Regions from separate parts of the Homo sapiens genome. Here region 2 is linked to region 1. The links are contacts of gene promoters, found by promoter capture Hi-C in human tissues and cell types (Jung and others, 2019). All regions are on one chromosome and are shown on one strand. Each heading gives the region's core, a stretch centred on a gene start or on the middle of the fragment in contact. The rest is flanking DNA. Distances are from core to core; before and after follow the strand shown. Region 1 holds the start of NPRL3 (NPR3 like, GATOR1 complex subunit). Region 2 overlaps FAM234A (family with sequence similarity 234 member A).

Region 1 (7,805 bases), core at 4,916-7,415:
CATTTTTTTTTTTTTTTTGAGACAGGGTCTCAGTGTCTCGCCCAGATTGGAGTGCAGTGGCGCCATCTTGGCTCACCGCAACCCTCTACCTCCCAGGCTCAAGCGATTCTCCTACCTCAGCCTCCCAAGTAGCTGGGATTACAGGTACATGCCACTACCACCCGGCTAACTTTTTTTTTTTTTTTTTTTTTGAGACGGAGTCTCTCTCTGTCTCCCAGGCTGGAGTGCAATGGCGCGATCTCAGCTCACTGTACCTCCGCCTCCTGGGTTCAAGCGATTCTCCTGCCTCAGCCTCCCGAGCAGCTGGGATTACAGGCACGTAGCACTACACCCGGCTAATTTTTTGAATCTTTAGTAGAGACGGGGTTTTACCACGTTGGTCAGGTGGTCAGGCTGGTCTCGAACTCCTGACCCTGTGATCCGCCCGCCTCAGCCTTCCAAAGTGCTGAGATTACAGGCATGAGCCACAGTGCCCGGCCACTAGACCACATTTCTAAAAGCTTTACAGTGTGGTCTTTTGCGTTTGGTGACAGTCAACCTTGGGTTGACTGTGTTGAGGGGAGTCCATGTCTGTTTGGCTGGCATCTGTTGAGCACTTTCTAAGTTCTGCACATGGCAGCAACACTCTTCATTCTGGGTGCTTTATCCTCACAACCACCCTGTGAGGGAGGGTTTATTTTATTGTCATTAGTTGGGTTTTTTGTTTGTTTGTTTTGTTATGTTTTGTTTTGTTACAGGGTCTTCTTACTCTGTCCTCCAGGCTAGAGTGCAGTGTGACAATCTTGGCTCACTGCAGGCTCAACTTCCCAAGCTCAGGTGATCCTCCCACCTCAGCCTCCTGAGTAGCTGGGACTATAGGCATGTGCCACTATGCCTGGGTAATATTTGTGTTTTTAGTAGAGATGGCGTTTTGCCATGTTGCCCAGGCTGGCCTCAAACTCCTGAGCTCCAGTGATCCACCCACCTCGGCCTCCTAAAGTGCTTGGGATTACAGGCGTGAGCCACTGCACATGGGCATCATTACATTGGAAAGATAAGGAAACGGAGGCTCCAGGAGGTTATGAAACATGTCTGAGGCTTCCATGGAGCAGGAAACAAGCCCTGATGGTTTGTGTGGGCTGGGAGTCCGGCTGGGGCTGGGGCTTGTCCCTTCCTGTCCCTGGGCCTTGGTTTGAGCCCCAGCCTGTGCAGTGAGTGTGGAATGCTGGTGTCCACTGGTGGTTTCTGGCCTGAATTCCAAGCTCCAGGCACGTTCTGTGCCTGAGCAGCTGAGGCTGAGCTCAAAGGGTGTCTGGCCACTTACAAGCCACTGGACACTCAGCAGAATGCCGGATTGGGCATCTGCAAACTCTCCCATGAGAGTGGACCCTCGGTGACCCTGAACAGGCTAATTTGCCTTGTGAGTCCTAGTTTCACTGTTTTCACCTCTAGGATGGGGATTAGACTAGCCCCCACCTCAGTGTTGGGAGGGCGCTCAGGAACTTGCAGCATGAATTTTAAATTATTTCTATTACTACTGTGTGTGAGTGGTTCTCCCTGGTGGGGCAGCAACACTCAGCTGAGAAGGTGGAGGTGTCCAGGCAAGTCCCAGATAGCGTCTGTGAACCCCACCCGGCCCTCCTGCAGATGGCGGTGGCCCTTTGAGGCCCAGACCAAGTGGCAGGACCGATAAGGCCTCCTATCCTGCCAAGGGCAGGCCCAGGCTGGGAGGAAGGGTCAGGGGTTTCAGTTTCCAAAAATCTACTTACCGTCAAAAAAGCAGGTCATGAAACAGCTATTTAAAGGTAAAATGAGGAGACTTGGAGGTGTGGGGTCTTAGCAGAGAAGAGCCTGAGGATGTCCCCTGTAGCAAATGGAGGTTGGCCCTGGTGCTTCATTGTCCAGGAGACCCTGGGAGAACTTAGAGCTGGGACTCACTCAGGGACCATCTGCTCTGAACCCTGTTACTGGTGGGGAAACTGAGGTCCAAAGCAAGGCCCACTGACCCTCAGGCCAGCGTGTGACAATGATGTCTCATTTCTGTCACAGCCAATGAGGTGCAAACATGGACATGAGGGTGGCGCTGGGATCCAGAGTGCTGCTTCGAGGGCAGGGACGCACCCAGGACCTCTGTGGGCTGGGGTCATGGTGAGCTCCCTGCACTTTCACCAGTTCGAGCTCTCATTATGACTGACGATAGTCAGAAGAATGAACAATGAGTGCCAGGGTTACTGGCAGGAGGCCAACCCTGAGAGGGTAACCGGGGGAACAGTGGGATCCTTTGAGCCCAGAGATGTCCAGTCTGGAGCCCCAAGGTTCTGCCCATTGGGGCAGCAGCACGATTAGGTCAGAAGAGCGAGACCTGAGTCACAGTCCTGCTCCATTCGCATGGTCGCTGTGAGGGTCCCTGTGAGGAGGCCTCCATTACCACCACCGGCCACTGCCCTGGGTTCCCCCACCCCCATCTGTCCCATCTCACCCCTCCAGCCTCAAGCCCTGCTCCTGCAGTCTCATTTCCATCCCAGAGGCACTCCTGGGAAGTGCGGGAGAACTCACAAACCTTTTGATTATACATAAAATCAAAACATGGACAACGGGGATAAAGCCTTGCAAAATGTGTAGCAGAGGTTATGTATTCCTCAGAAAGAACACAGCCAGACCATCCAAGAACAGACCACCTGTAAAGAAAACAAGAAAAGCAATTCTCTGCAAATAATTAAGTGATGCAGCTCTCCCTCTCAATCAAAGAAATGCAACATAGAACAAGACACCATTTTCCTTTCTGGGAATTTCAGGAAAAAAAAAAATGTTATGCAGGCCGGGCACGGTGGCTCACGCCTGTAATCCCAGCACTTTGAGAGGCCGAGGCGGGTGGATCAAGAGGTCAGGAGATCGAGACCATCCTGGCTAACGCGGTGAAACCCCGTCTCTACTAAAAATACAAAAAAATTAGCCGGACGTGGTGGCGGGCGCCTGTAGTCTCAGCTACTGGGGAGGCTGAGGCAGGAGAATGGTGTGAACCTGGGAGGTGGAGCTTGCAGTGAGCTGAGATCGTGCCACTGCACTCCAGCCTGGGCGACAGAGCAAGACTCCATCTCAAAAAAAAAAAAAAAATTAGCCTGGTGTGGTGGCGGGCACCTGTAGTCCCAGCTACTTGGGAGGCTGAGGCAGGAGAATGATGTGAACCTGGTAGGTGGAGCTTGCAGTGAACTGAGATTGTGCCACTGCCCTCCAGCCTGGGTGATAGAGCGAGACTCTGTCTCAAAAAAAAAAAAAAAATGTTATGCAGCCCTGTGCAAGAAAACGCACCTGTTGGTACTGTTGAGCCATTTCAAATGCACGTACCCTTCACCCTGGTGAGGCCAATCCACAAATTTGTTCTGCAAAATACACATTAGTGTCAGTGTTGGTGCAAGAGGGTTACTTGCAACAGTGAAAATGCTCATCCCTCAGTCAAGTGGTTAGGTTCTGATGCATTTGATGTGCTTGGGAAAGTTCTGGAAGCAGCCAAAGAAGCTCATTACCTTTAGTTACCTCCTGGGGAAGCCTGGGATAGGGTAGGTGGGGTGATTTTTTAAAAAACAACTTCATTGAGATATAATTTACCATACCATACCAATTTGCATACCATAAAGCTTATCCACTTCAAGTGTACACTTCCATATCTTTTTTTTGTTTTTGAGATGGAGTCTCGCTCTGTCGCCCAGGCTGGAGTGCAATGGTGCGATCTTGGCTCACTGCAAGCTCCGCCTCCCGGGTTCACACCATTCTCCTGCCTCAGCCTCCTGAGTATCTGGGACTACAGGCGCCCGCACCATGTCCAGCTAATTTTTTGTATTTTTAGTAGACACGGGGTTTCACTGTCTTAGCCAGGATGGTCTCGATCTCCTGACCTCGCGATCCGCCTGCCTTGGCCTCCCAAAGCGCTGGGATTACAGGCATGAGCCACTGCGCCCGGCACTTCCATGTCTTTTAGTGTATTCGCGTTCTCAGAGCTGTCCAACCATTACCACAGTCAACGTTAGAACATTTTCATCACTCCCCTTCAAAAAACCCATGAATCGCTCCATATTTCCCCTGACCCCCTGGAAGCCCTAGGCAGCCACTAATCATTCTGTCTCTATGGATTTGCCTATTCTGGGCATCTTATATAAATGGAATCATATATTAGTGTGTCTTCAAGATGGATTCATGTGCCGTACTTCATTCCTTTTTATGGCTGAATAGTATTCCCTTAAACAAACTATACCATATTCACCCATTCATCAATTGATATACCCTAGGATTGCTTCCACTTTGGGCTATTATGAATAATATTACTAAGAACACACATGTTTTTGTGTGGACATATGCTTTCATTTCTCTTGGCTATATATCTAAAAGGGGGATTTGCCGAGTGTTGTGTTAACTCTAACCTTTCAGGAACTGCCAGCCTGTTTTCCATAGCGAGTGTAGCCTCTTACATTCCCACCAGCAGGAGAGAGATTCCCGTTTCTCCACACCCCTGCTGACGCTTGTCTTTTTGATTACAGCCATCGTAGGAGGTGTGATGTGGCATCTATTTGTAGTTTTGATTTGCATCTCCCTAATGCCTAATAATGTTGAGCATTTTTAATTTCTGTTTTGCCCAGGCTGGTCTGGAGTTCCTGGCCTCTCAGCGCTGGGGTCACAGGCGTAAGCCTCTACCAGTTGAGCTGAGCATCTTCTGGTGCTTATTGGCCATTTGCATAATGCACTGGAAAAATATTCATATCCTTTGTGCATTTTTCAATTGTCTTTTTATTGTTGAGTTGTAAGTTTCCTCCATTCTAGATACAATTCCCTTATCAGATATGTAACTTACAAATATTTTCTCCCGTTCTGTGGGTGGACTTTTAATTTTCTTGATGGTGTCCTTTAAAGCACCGAAGTTTTTGTTTTGTTTTGAGATGGAGTCTCGCTCTGTCGCCAGGCCAGAGTTCAGTGGCACGATCTCGGCTCACTGCAACCTCCGCCTCCCGGCTTCAAGCGATTCTCCTGCCTCAGCCTCCCGAGTAGCTGGGATTAGAAGCAGGCGCCGCCAAACCCAGCTAATTTTTGTATTTTTAGTAGAGAGACGGGGTTTTACCATGTTGGCCAGGATGGTCTAGATCTCCTGATCTCATGATCTGCCCACCTCGGCCTCCCAAAGTGCTGGGATTTCAGGCGTGAGCCACCGCGCCCGGCCGCAGTAAAGTTTTTAATCTGATGAAGTTTAATTTATTCTTCTGTAGTCGCTCCTGCCTTTAGTGTCACTGCCTCGCCCAAGGTCTCAAAGATCTCCTGTCGGCTTCCAAGTGTTTTTTTTTTTTTTTTTTTTTTTTGAGACGGAGTCTCGCTCTGTCGCCTAGGCTGTAGTGCAGTGGCGCAATCTCGGCTCACCGCAAGCTCCGCCTCCCGGGTTCAAGCGATTTTCCTGTCTCAGCCTCCCGAGTAGCTGGGATTACAGGCGCCCGCCACCACGCCCGGCTAATTTTTTTTTTTTTTTTTGTAGAGACGGGGTTTCACCATGTTGGCCAGGATGGTCTCGAACTCCTGACCTCGTGATTCACCCGCCTCGGCCTCCCAAAGTGCTGGGATTACAGGCGTGAGCCACCGCGCCCGGCCTTTTTTTTTTCTTTTTTCTTTCTTTCTTTCTTTTTTTTTTTTTTGATACGGGGTCTCGTCGCTCTGTCGCCCAGGGTGGAGTGCAATGGCGTGATCTTGGCTCAATGCAACCTCCGCCTCCCGGGTTCAAGCGATTCTCCTCTAGGATTACGGGCGCCTGCCACCACGCCCGGATAATTTCTTCTAATTTTTAGTAGAGATGGGGTTTCACTATGTTAGCTAGGATGGTCTCGATCTCCTGACCTCGTGATCCGCCCGCCTCGGCCTCCCAAAATGCTGGGATTACAGGCGTGAGCCACCGCGCCCCGCCCAAGTGTTATTTGTAAAACGAAGAAACCAACATCGAGAGGGACGCTGACTCGACCCCGCGCCTTTCCCATCCGCACCAGCAAGAGGGGCCCCTGTGCCCCAAACGCGAACCGTACGGCTCCAGACAGCACCGCGGAACTCGGTGGCTTCCAGAAGGCCCCGCGCCTGCGCATTCCGCTGCCTGCGCCTGCGCCTGCGCCTGCGCCGTTCTCCCGGCCGCCGCCTTAGCACCTCCTCCGGACGGTGTCGCCGAAGTCTCGCGAGCCCGGAGCGTGGCACGTGGGTTGGTAACTGTGGCGCTGCTCCGCGTCCACCACCACCCCTGTCCTCCTCAGGCCCCCTCCGCCTCCACCCCTGCCCTCCTCAGGCCCCCTCCGCCTCCACCCCTGCCCTACTCAGGCCCCCTCCGCCTCCACCCCTGCCCTCCTCAGGCCCCCTCCGCCTCCACCCCTGCCCTCCTCAGGCCCCCTCCGCCTCCACCCCTGCCCTCCTCAGGCCCCCTCCGCCTCCACCCCTGCCCTCCTCAGGCCCCCTGCGTCCCCGCCTCGTCCTCCTCAGGCCCCCTCCGCCTCCGGCTCCGTCCTCCTCAGGCCCCCTCCGCCTCCGGCTCCGTCCTCCTCTGGCCCCCTCCGCCCCCGGCCCCGGCCCCACGGCGGGATGCGGGACAACACCAGCCCCATCAGCGTGATTCTGGTGAGCTCGGGGAGCAGGGGCAATAAGCTGCTGTTCAGGTACCCCTTCCAGAGAAGCCAGGAGCACCCGGCGTCCCAGACAAGTAAGTGAGCGCTGGGCGGGGGCCTGGCGCTCGCGGGGGCCGCCTCATTCCGGGGTCGCCTCATTCCAGGGCCGCCTCGCGGAGCTTAGCTTTTGCTGGGCATTCGAGATCTGCTCGTTGTAGAGTATTTGAAAAGTAGAAAAAGGAAAAAAAAAATTAAAATCATGCATTGTTCACCACACCAAAGCAACTACTGCTGACATTTCATCAGTCTCCAGCCTTTAAAAAATAAAGTAAAATAAAATAAAATGAGTTTGGGATGTATTCATCATGAGAAAATACAAAATTACACGAACAAGGCCGGTGGCGGTAATCCCAGCACTTTGGGAGGCCGAGGCGGGTGGATCACCTGAGGTCAGGAGTTCGAGACCAGCCTGGCCAACATGGTTGAAACTCTGTCTCTACTGAAAAAATAAAAATAAAAAAAAACAAATTAGCCGAGCGTGGTGGTGCGTGCCCATAATCCTAGCTACTTGGGAGGCTGAGGCAGGAGAATTGCTTGAACCCGGGAGGCGGAGGTTTCAGTGAACCGAGATCGCGCCACTGGATTCCAGCCTGGGCAACAGAGCAAGACTCCGTCTCAAAAAAAAAAAAAAAAGTTACGTGAACATCTGAAGTTGTCTTTGCCACCCCCAGTTCTAGCAAGCACAGGGATCACCCCTGGCCGTGTTGGGAGTTGTCTGCCCTGTGCATAGATGCAGATCTATCCACAGGAAAAGGGAACGTCGCGTGAGGTTTTTCATCGCACGAATTGTTCTGTGGCGCCCTTTTCCCATAGTCGGCCTTGGAGCTCCGTCTGCCTTTGCAAGCAGGGATCAACCTCACCCTTGGCTGCAGGCTGCTGCCTTCCCCTGTGGACGGCATGTAGGTTACTTTTGATTTTTCATCATCATGAATGTTCAGTTTTTGTTTTTATTTTATTTATTTTTTGAGACGGAGTCTCACTCTGTCGCCCAGGCTGGAGTTGAGTGGCGTGATCTCGGCTCACTGCAGCCTCCACCTCCCGGGCTCAAGGGATTCTCCTGCCTCAGCCTCCCAAGTAGCTGGGGCTACAGGGCATGTGCACCACACCCTGCAATTTTTTTTTTTTTTTTTTTTTTTTTTAGTAGAGATGGGG
Region 2 (7,805 bases), core at 2,732-5,231, 110 kb before region 1:
TGTTAAATCAGACCAAACTGGACATTCTGTGGCAGGGACAGAGAAAGTACTGTCATTTTCTCAATTCCTGCCTTTTGAATTGGAGAGCCTGGCCGAAAGGACAAACATTTCCCCCATGCACGGACCATCTCTGTAACAAGATTTAGAAGGACAAAGGGAAAAAACTCTCTAAATGCTCATTAGTAACACGGTTGGGGATTTGGGTCATCTGTGTCTTGTGAGCATCTACAATTGGTCCAGTGTCCTCACCTGCAGAGCAGAATGAAATAAGACATATCACATACGTGTGAGGGAAGACAGAAACAGAGGCTTCAGAAGGCAAAGCCCCATTACGGGACGCAAAACAATGCAGGCAATTGACTTAACCAGATGAGCACCCACCTGAACCCAGCACTGGGCTCCACTCTGAGAGGGTTCCCAGACAGTCAGGCCCCGCAGTGCCTCCATGGGGACTCTCCCACCACTTGGGCGAACCCAGGTCAGGGTAGAAAATGGCACTGAACATTTTTGGGAGGATCATCATTTTAACTGACAAACACAGGTTTCTAAAACCGAGCCAGCCGTTGAGGCATTTATGAAAAACACAGACTGATCTAAGATCAAAAGAGTTTGTGAGAAACTGATTTAAAAATCATTAATAAGGCCAGGCGCGGTGGCTCACGCCTATAATCCCAGCCCTTTGGGAGGCCAAGGCAGGCGGAGTACCTGAGGTCAGGAGTTCGAGACCAGCCTGGCCAACATGGTGAAACCCCATCTCTACTAAAAAATACAAAAATTAGTCGGGCGTGGTGGCGGGCACCTTAATCCCAGTCACTTGGGAGTCAAGGGCAGGAGAATTGTTTGAACCTGGGAGGCAGAGGTTGCAGTCAGCCGAGATTGAGCCATCGCACTCAAGCCTGAGGGACAACAGCAAGACTTCTCTTAAAAAAAAAAAATCATTAATAAGGCTGGGAGTGTTGTCTCATGTCTATAATCCCAGCACTTTGCCAGGCCGAGGCGCATGGAAAGCTTGAGTTCAGTTCAAGACCAGCCTGGGCAACACGGTGAGACCGTTTCTAAAAAGAAAGAAAAAAAAAATCAGCCCGGTGTGGTGGCACACGCCTGTGGTCTTAGCTACCCAGGAGCTGAGGTGGGAGGGTCACTTGAAGCCAGGAAGTGGAGGCTGCAATGAGTGGTGATCACGCCACTGCCCTCCAGCCTGGTGACACAGAGTAAAGCTCTGTCTCAAAACAAAACAAAACAGAACAAAACATCGATAAAACAACAAAACCAACAATCAATCAATTAAAAAACCACCAACTGACCGGGCGTGGTGGTTTGCGCCTGTAATCCCAGCACTTTCGGAGGCCGAGGCAGGCAGATCACGAAGTCAGGAGTTCGAGACCAGCCTGAACAACATGGTGAAACCCCACCTCTGCTAAAATAAAAAAATTAGATGAGTATGGTGGCATGCGCCTATAATCCCAACTACTCAGGAGGCTGAGGCAGGAGAATCACTTGAGCCTGGGAGGCAGAGGTTGCAGTGAGCCAAGATCGTGCCACTGCACTCCAGCCTGGGCAACAGAGCAAGACCCCCATCTCAAAAAAAGAAAAAAACAAAAACAAAACAAAACAAAACAAAACACCAATCGATCGAAAAAAAAAAAACACCAGCTGGCTGGGCATGGTGGCTCACGCCTGTAATACCAGCACTTTAGGAGGCCAAAGCGGGCGGATCACAAGGTCAGGAGATTGAGACCATCCTGGCTAACACGGTGAAACCCCATCTCTACTAAAAATACAAAAAATTAGCCGGGTGTGGTGGCGGGCACCTTTAGTCCCAGCTACTCGGGAGGCTGAGGCAGGAGAATGGCGTGAACCCGGGAGGCAGAGCTTGCAGTGAGCCAAGATCGCACCACTGCACTCCAGCCTGGGCGACAGAGCAAGACTATCTCAAAAAAAAAAAAAAAAAAAAAAGCCACCACCTACTCAGGAGGCTGAGGCAGGAGAACTGCTTGAACCCAGGAGGCAGAGGTTGCGGTGAGCCGAGACTGCACCACTGTGCTCCAGCCTGGGTGAGAGTGAGACCTCGTCACAAAAAAAAAAAAAAATCCACCAATCAAGATAAACTCCAAATGAATTAAAAATGTAAACATTATTATTATTATTATTATTTTTTTGAGACAGAATCTTGCTCTGTCACCTAGGCGGGAGTACAATGGCGTGATCTTGGCTCACTGCAACCTCTGCCTCCTGGGTTCAAGCGATTCTCCTGCCTCAGCCTCCTGAGTGGCTGGGACTATAGGCACCCACCACCACACCCACCACCGCACCCAGCTAATTTTTGTATTTTTAGTAGAGACGGTTTCACCATGATGATCAGGCTGGTCTAGAACTGCTGACCTCGTGATCTGCCCACCTAAGCCTCTCAAAGTGCTGGGATTACAGGCGTGAGCCACTGCGCCTGGCCAAAAATGTAAACATTATTTTTAACAAACATTAAACTAAAAGAAAATAGAAGAGAATGTTTATGTATTGTTAGGGAAAGTCTTGAACGCATGACCCCAAAGGTGGAAATCATTAAGAAAAACACTGATGAACTAAATATATTATGAAATGTCTAACCCAAGCTTGTCCAACCCTCGGCCCAGGATGGCTTGAAGTGTGGCCTAACATAAATTCAGAAACTTTCTTAAAACATTCACAGATTTTTTTGCAATTTTTTTTTTTCAGCTCATCAGCTATCATTAGTGTTAGTGTACTTTATGTGTGGCCCAAGACAATTCTTCCAACGTGGCCCAGGGAAGCCAAAAGATTGTTGTTAGCTCCACAAAACAAACCAGGATAAATATTCTTAGGGTTTTCACAAACCCACAAAAGAAAGGCAAGGACCCCAGTGGGGAAACAGGAAACGAATTCATAACTGGGCAGTTCACTGAAGAGCACACGCCAGTGGCCGGTGCCCAGGGGAAACACACTCAGTCTCACTCATAGACACAGCAGGACCAATGACATTAACAAAAGTTAAGCATTTCATTTTATCTGATCTTGAGACAGGGTCTCACTCTGTGGCCCAGGCTGGAGGGCAGTGGTGATCTAGGCTCACTGCAACCTCCTCCTGCTGGGTTCGAGAGATTCTCCCACCTCAGCCTATAAAGTAGCTGGGACCACAGGTGTGCATCACCGCGCCGGGCAAATTTTTGTATTTTTTGTAGAGACAGAGTTTCGCCACGTTGCCCAGGCTGGTCTCAAACTCCAGGGCCCAAGTGATCTGCCTGCCTCAGCCTCCCAAAGTGTGGGCCACGCCCAGCCTAAAAGTTAAGCATTTTAAAATGTGTTGGTGAGAATATACGATAACAGGTCTGCAGTACAATAGTCGTGGGAATTTGAAATGGTAGTTATTGGTCGAGCGCGATGGCTCATGCCTGTAATCCCAGCACGTTGGGAGGCTGAGGCGGGCAGATCACCTGAGGTCGGGAGTTTGAGACCAGCCTGACCAACATGGAGAAACCCCATCTCTACTAAAAATACAAAAAAAAATTAGCCGGGCGTGGTGGTGCATGCCTGTAATCCCAGCTACTCGGGAGGCTGAGGCAGGAGAATCACTTGAACCTGGGAGGCAGAGGGTGCAGTGGCCAAGATCGTGCCATTCCACTCCAGCCTGGGCAACAAAAGCAAAATTCCGTCTCAAAAAAAAAAAAAAAAAAAAAAAGAGGTTACCATTCAGGGAAGCAGACTTCAGGGTCCAGCCCTGTGCTATTTTTACAACATTTTGTGAATCTATAAGTAGTCCAAAATAAAAAGTATAAAATAGAAAATCAAAAGAGAAAAGAAAACCGTTAGTAAGGGGGAGTGGGGTCAGAGGTTCATGTAAGTTTTAGAGGAAGAACCAGCTTCTCCACAGGCAGCTTGGTTTGTGCCTCAAAGCTACCTTAATATGAAGCTATTTTGTTCCAAAGGCAGGAGTCCTTTTAGTGTTTTGTTTATTTTTGGAAGAATATCAATAGTGGAGTTTTGTGGTAGCCTGAAGAAATACTGAAAGAAGAGCCAAACCCCTGGCATGTTACAATTCTCCATTACAAAATAATCACCAGCTTCCTCAAAACCATCCATTAAAATCATTTTCCGACCGGGCGCGGTGGCTCACGCCTGTAATCCCAGCACTTTGGGAGGCCAAGGCGGGTGGATCACAAGGTCAGGAGATCGAGACCATCCTAGCTAACACGGTGAAACCCCATCTCTACTAAAGATAGAAAAAATTAGCCGGGCGTGGTGGCGGGTGCCTGTAGTCCCAGCTACTCAGGAGGCTGAGGCAGGAGAATGGTGTGAACCTGGGAGGCGGAGGTTGCAGTGAGCCGAGATGGCACCACTGCACTCCAGCCTGGGTGACAGAGCAAGACTCCGACTCAAAAAAAAAAAAAATCATTTTCCTTTCCACTGTGGGGAAAAAACGGATATGCACAGCATTTATAACAATACTCCCCAAATACTTACCTGAGCAAATGCCAGAGTTTAAAAGGGGTCGTCTCCAAAGTCAGACAATGTGGTGACAATGAAAATGCCCCAAGGGGTGGGAACTCTTACTGCTATACAGCCTCTGCACATGCTTTCACACCGGCCTGGCCACAGAAAAGGGGTGTGTGTTTAACACGAATAAGGCCTGTCTTTGGAAAATTAAAAAGCTGGTCAGGAATTCCTTCACAGGATCTCCAGGTAAGACTTCCTTTTTGGAAACTTGACTGAGCCACCAGAAATAGGGGTAGTTATTAAAAGCCACAACGGCAAGGCAGCCAAAGCCAGGCAGTTCATGATTCAACCAGTTTGCAAATAAAGACACCATGAGACAGGTCCAAAGATTTGCTCATCAACAGCAAGAAGATACCAATGTTTTTCTCTACTGCGGTCATTAAAAATACCAGGAGCCGTAGCCAGAGCTTCAGGAACCTGACTGGCAGAGAAAATCCCCATGGACCCAGGTCAGAGAGACTTGAGCAGGGCACTGTCCTTGCTCTACTTTAGCATCCATACCATTGACCACAGAGAGTCAGGCCATGTGGCTATTTAAAAAAACAGAAAACAGAACTCAACAAGCTAATAACCAAAAATTTAACTTCATGGCCGGGCAGGGTGGTTCACGCCTATAATCCTAGTGCTTTGGGAGGCTGAGGCAGGAGGATGACTTGAGGCCAGGTGTTCGAGACCAGTCTGGGCAACATGGGGAGACCCCATCTCTACAAAAAGTAAAATAAAATTAGGTGTAGTGGCATGTGCTTGTAGTCCCAGCTACCTGGGAGGCTGAGGTGGGAGGTTAGCTTGAGCCCAAGAGGTTGAGGCTGCAGTGAGCTGTGATCATTATCACTACATTCCAGTTTGGGCAACAGAGTGAGACCTTGTTTCAAAAAAAAAAAAAAAAGTGAGGGCTCAGAAAGAAAAGAAAATTTGTCAATACAATACGTATTAATTAAGGTAAAAGACCTGACACGGGATGGGCGTGGTAGCTCACGCCTGTAATCCCAGCACTTTGGGAGGCTGAGGTGGGTGGATCGCAAGGTCAGGAGTTCGAGACCAATTTGGCCAACATGGTGAAACTCCATCTCTACTAAAAATACAAAAAATTAACCAGGCGTGGTGATGTGCATCAGTAATCCCAGCTACTCAGGAGGCTGAGGCAGGAGAATCGCTTGAACCCGGGGGGCAGAGGTTGCAGTGAGCTGAGATAGCGCCATTGCACTCCAGCCTGGACGACAGAGCGAGACTCTGTCTCAGAAAAAAAAAAAAAAAAGGAGCTGACACCAAGAATAACTTGAAGAAAGAAAGATAAACACAATACCTCATATATGGTTATTCAAACGGATTATTCCCCTGGCCTACAGAACTATCAGTAAGCCCGCGGTGACTCGTGCCTATAAACCCAGCATTTTGGGAGGCCGAGGTGGACAGATCACTGGAGGACAGGAGTTCAAGACCAGGCTGGCCAACATGGTGAAACCCCGACTCTACTAAAAATACAAAATTAGGTGGGTATGTTGGTGTCTGCCTATAGTCTCAGCTACTGGGAAGGCTGAAGCACGAGAATCACTTCAGCCTGGGAGGTAGGGGATGTGGTGAGCCAAGATCGTACTACTGCACTCCAGCCCGGGTGATAGACCAAGACTCTGTCTCAAAAAAAAGGACTATCGGTAAACCAGCTGTCCACTCTAGGCCACTGAGGCTGCCACACCTATCTGTCCTCCAGGGAGTCCACAGGCTACCCAGTCCTGAGTGGAAACTCTGATTAGGGGGAAGAACAAAACAATCCAGCAGTAGTTTGCACAGCTCATTAACATTTCGGCAGGGGTGGGGCAGGAATACCACAGTCCATGCAGAAAGGAAGTGACAGGTCTCTCCCTTTTCTCCAAGAGTTCTTTCTCTAAGAAGTTTACTGAGTCACAGAGAACAGAAAATAAAAACAAAAGTCTCATTCTAATTGCCTTTTTTTTTTTTTTTTTTGAGACGTTGTCTCGCTCTGTCGCCCAGGCTGGAGTGCAGTGGTGCAATCTTGGCTCACTGCAACCTCCGCCTCCTGGTTTCAAGCCTCAGCCTCCCCAGTAGCTGGGACTACAGGTGCCCGCCACCAAGCCCGGCTAATTTTTTGTATTTTTAGTAGAGATGGGGTTTCACTGTGTTAGCCAGGATGGTCTCGATCTGCTGACCTCGTGATCCGCCCGCCTCGGCCTCCCAAAGTGCTGGGATTACAGGCCTGAGCCACCGCGCCCGGCCTCTAATTTTTTTAATTGCAGAAATTTGATGAAAACTTTTTTTTTTTTGACACAGGGTCTTGCTCTGTTGCCCAGGCTGGAATGAAGTGGTGCAATCATGGCTCACTGCAGCCTTGAATCCCCGGGCTCAAGAGATCCTCCCGCCTCAGGCTCCCCAGTAGCTGGGAGCACAGGCATGCACCAGCTAATTTTTGTTCAGCTAATCTTTAAATTTTTTGTAGAAATGAGAGCCTCACTATGTTGCCCAGGCTCCTCTGTAACTCCTGGGTTCATGTGATCCTCCCACCTCTGCCTCCCGAAGTGCTAGAATGACAGGTGTGAACCACCGTGCCCAGCCTGAAGCAGACAGCTTTTTTTTTTTCTTTCTTTTTGTGTAGACCTCCTCTGCGGTCAAGATAAGTGTTTTAAGGCTAGGCACAGTAGCATACATTTGTAATCCCAGCAACTTCGGGAGGCTACAGCAGGAGGCAGGAAGATCACTCGAGCGCAGGAGTTCGAGACCAGCCTGGGCAACATGACAAAACCCTACCTCCACAAAAAAATACAAAAACTAGCCGGGTATGGTGGTATGTGCCTCTAGTCCCAGCTGTGCGAGAGACTGAGGTTCCCTTGAGCCTGGGAGGTGAGCGGAGATCACACCACTGCATTCCAGTCTAGGCAACAGGGCAAGACCCTGTCTCAAAAAAAAGAGAAGAAAACAGTGTTTTAAATGGATAAAATATTTAGTTAATATTTAGAGGAAAACTATGATTATAGATTAATGTTACTATCTAGTTTCACCAGTTAGAAACAGAAACTGAAAAGATTTTGTCAATGGATTAAAAATAATAAGCCCAGCTGGGTGTGGTAGCTCACAACTGTAATCTCAGCACTTTAGGAGGCCTAGGCGGCTGGATCACTTGAGGTCAGGAGTGCGAGACCAACCTGGCCAACATTGTGAAACCCCATCTCTACTAAAAGTACAAAAATTAGCCGGCGTGGTGGCACGCGCCTGTAGTCCCAGCTACTAGGGAGGCTGAGGCAGGAGTATCGCTTTAACCAAGGAGGCAGAGGTTGCAGTGAGCTGAG

Evidence for each region. Contacts are between HindIII fragments. The study calls those that stand out against the background at their distance.
Region 2: a fragment that was not itself captured here is called in contact with the fragment with the promoter of NPRL3 in region 1 in 3 of the 25 tissues and cell types used here (bladder, dorsolateral prefrontal cortex and lymphoblastoid cells).

Annotation. Positions count from the first base shown.
Region 1 is chr16:137,033-144,837 of GRCh38, reverse strand. It overlaps NPRL3 (NPR3 like, GATOR1 complex subunit), which reads left to right and starts at 6,165. Exons shown (of 14, transcript NM_001077350.3): 1 at 6,165-6,196; 2 at 6,504-6,688. The coding sequence starts at 6,571. RefSeq lists a cis regulatory region at 1,365-1,883, an enhancer at 6,236-6,285 and a silencer at 6,506-6,735. The HindIII fragment of the contact is 17,392 bases long and covers 2,058-7,805 here.
Region 2 is chr16:240,569-248,373 of GRCh38, reverse strand. All of the region lies in intron 1 of FAM234A (family with sequence similarity 234 member A), which reads right to left. Among named protein-coding and RNA genes, the nearest start is that of FAM234A, 9.6 kb to the right of the region's middle. The HindIII fragment of the contact is 7,678 bases long and covers 143-7,805 here.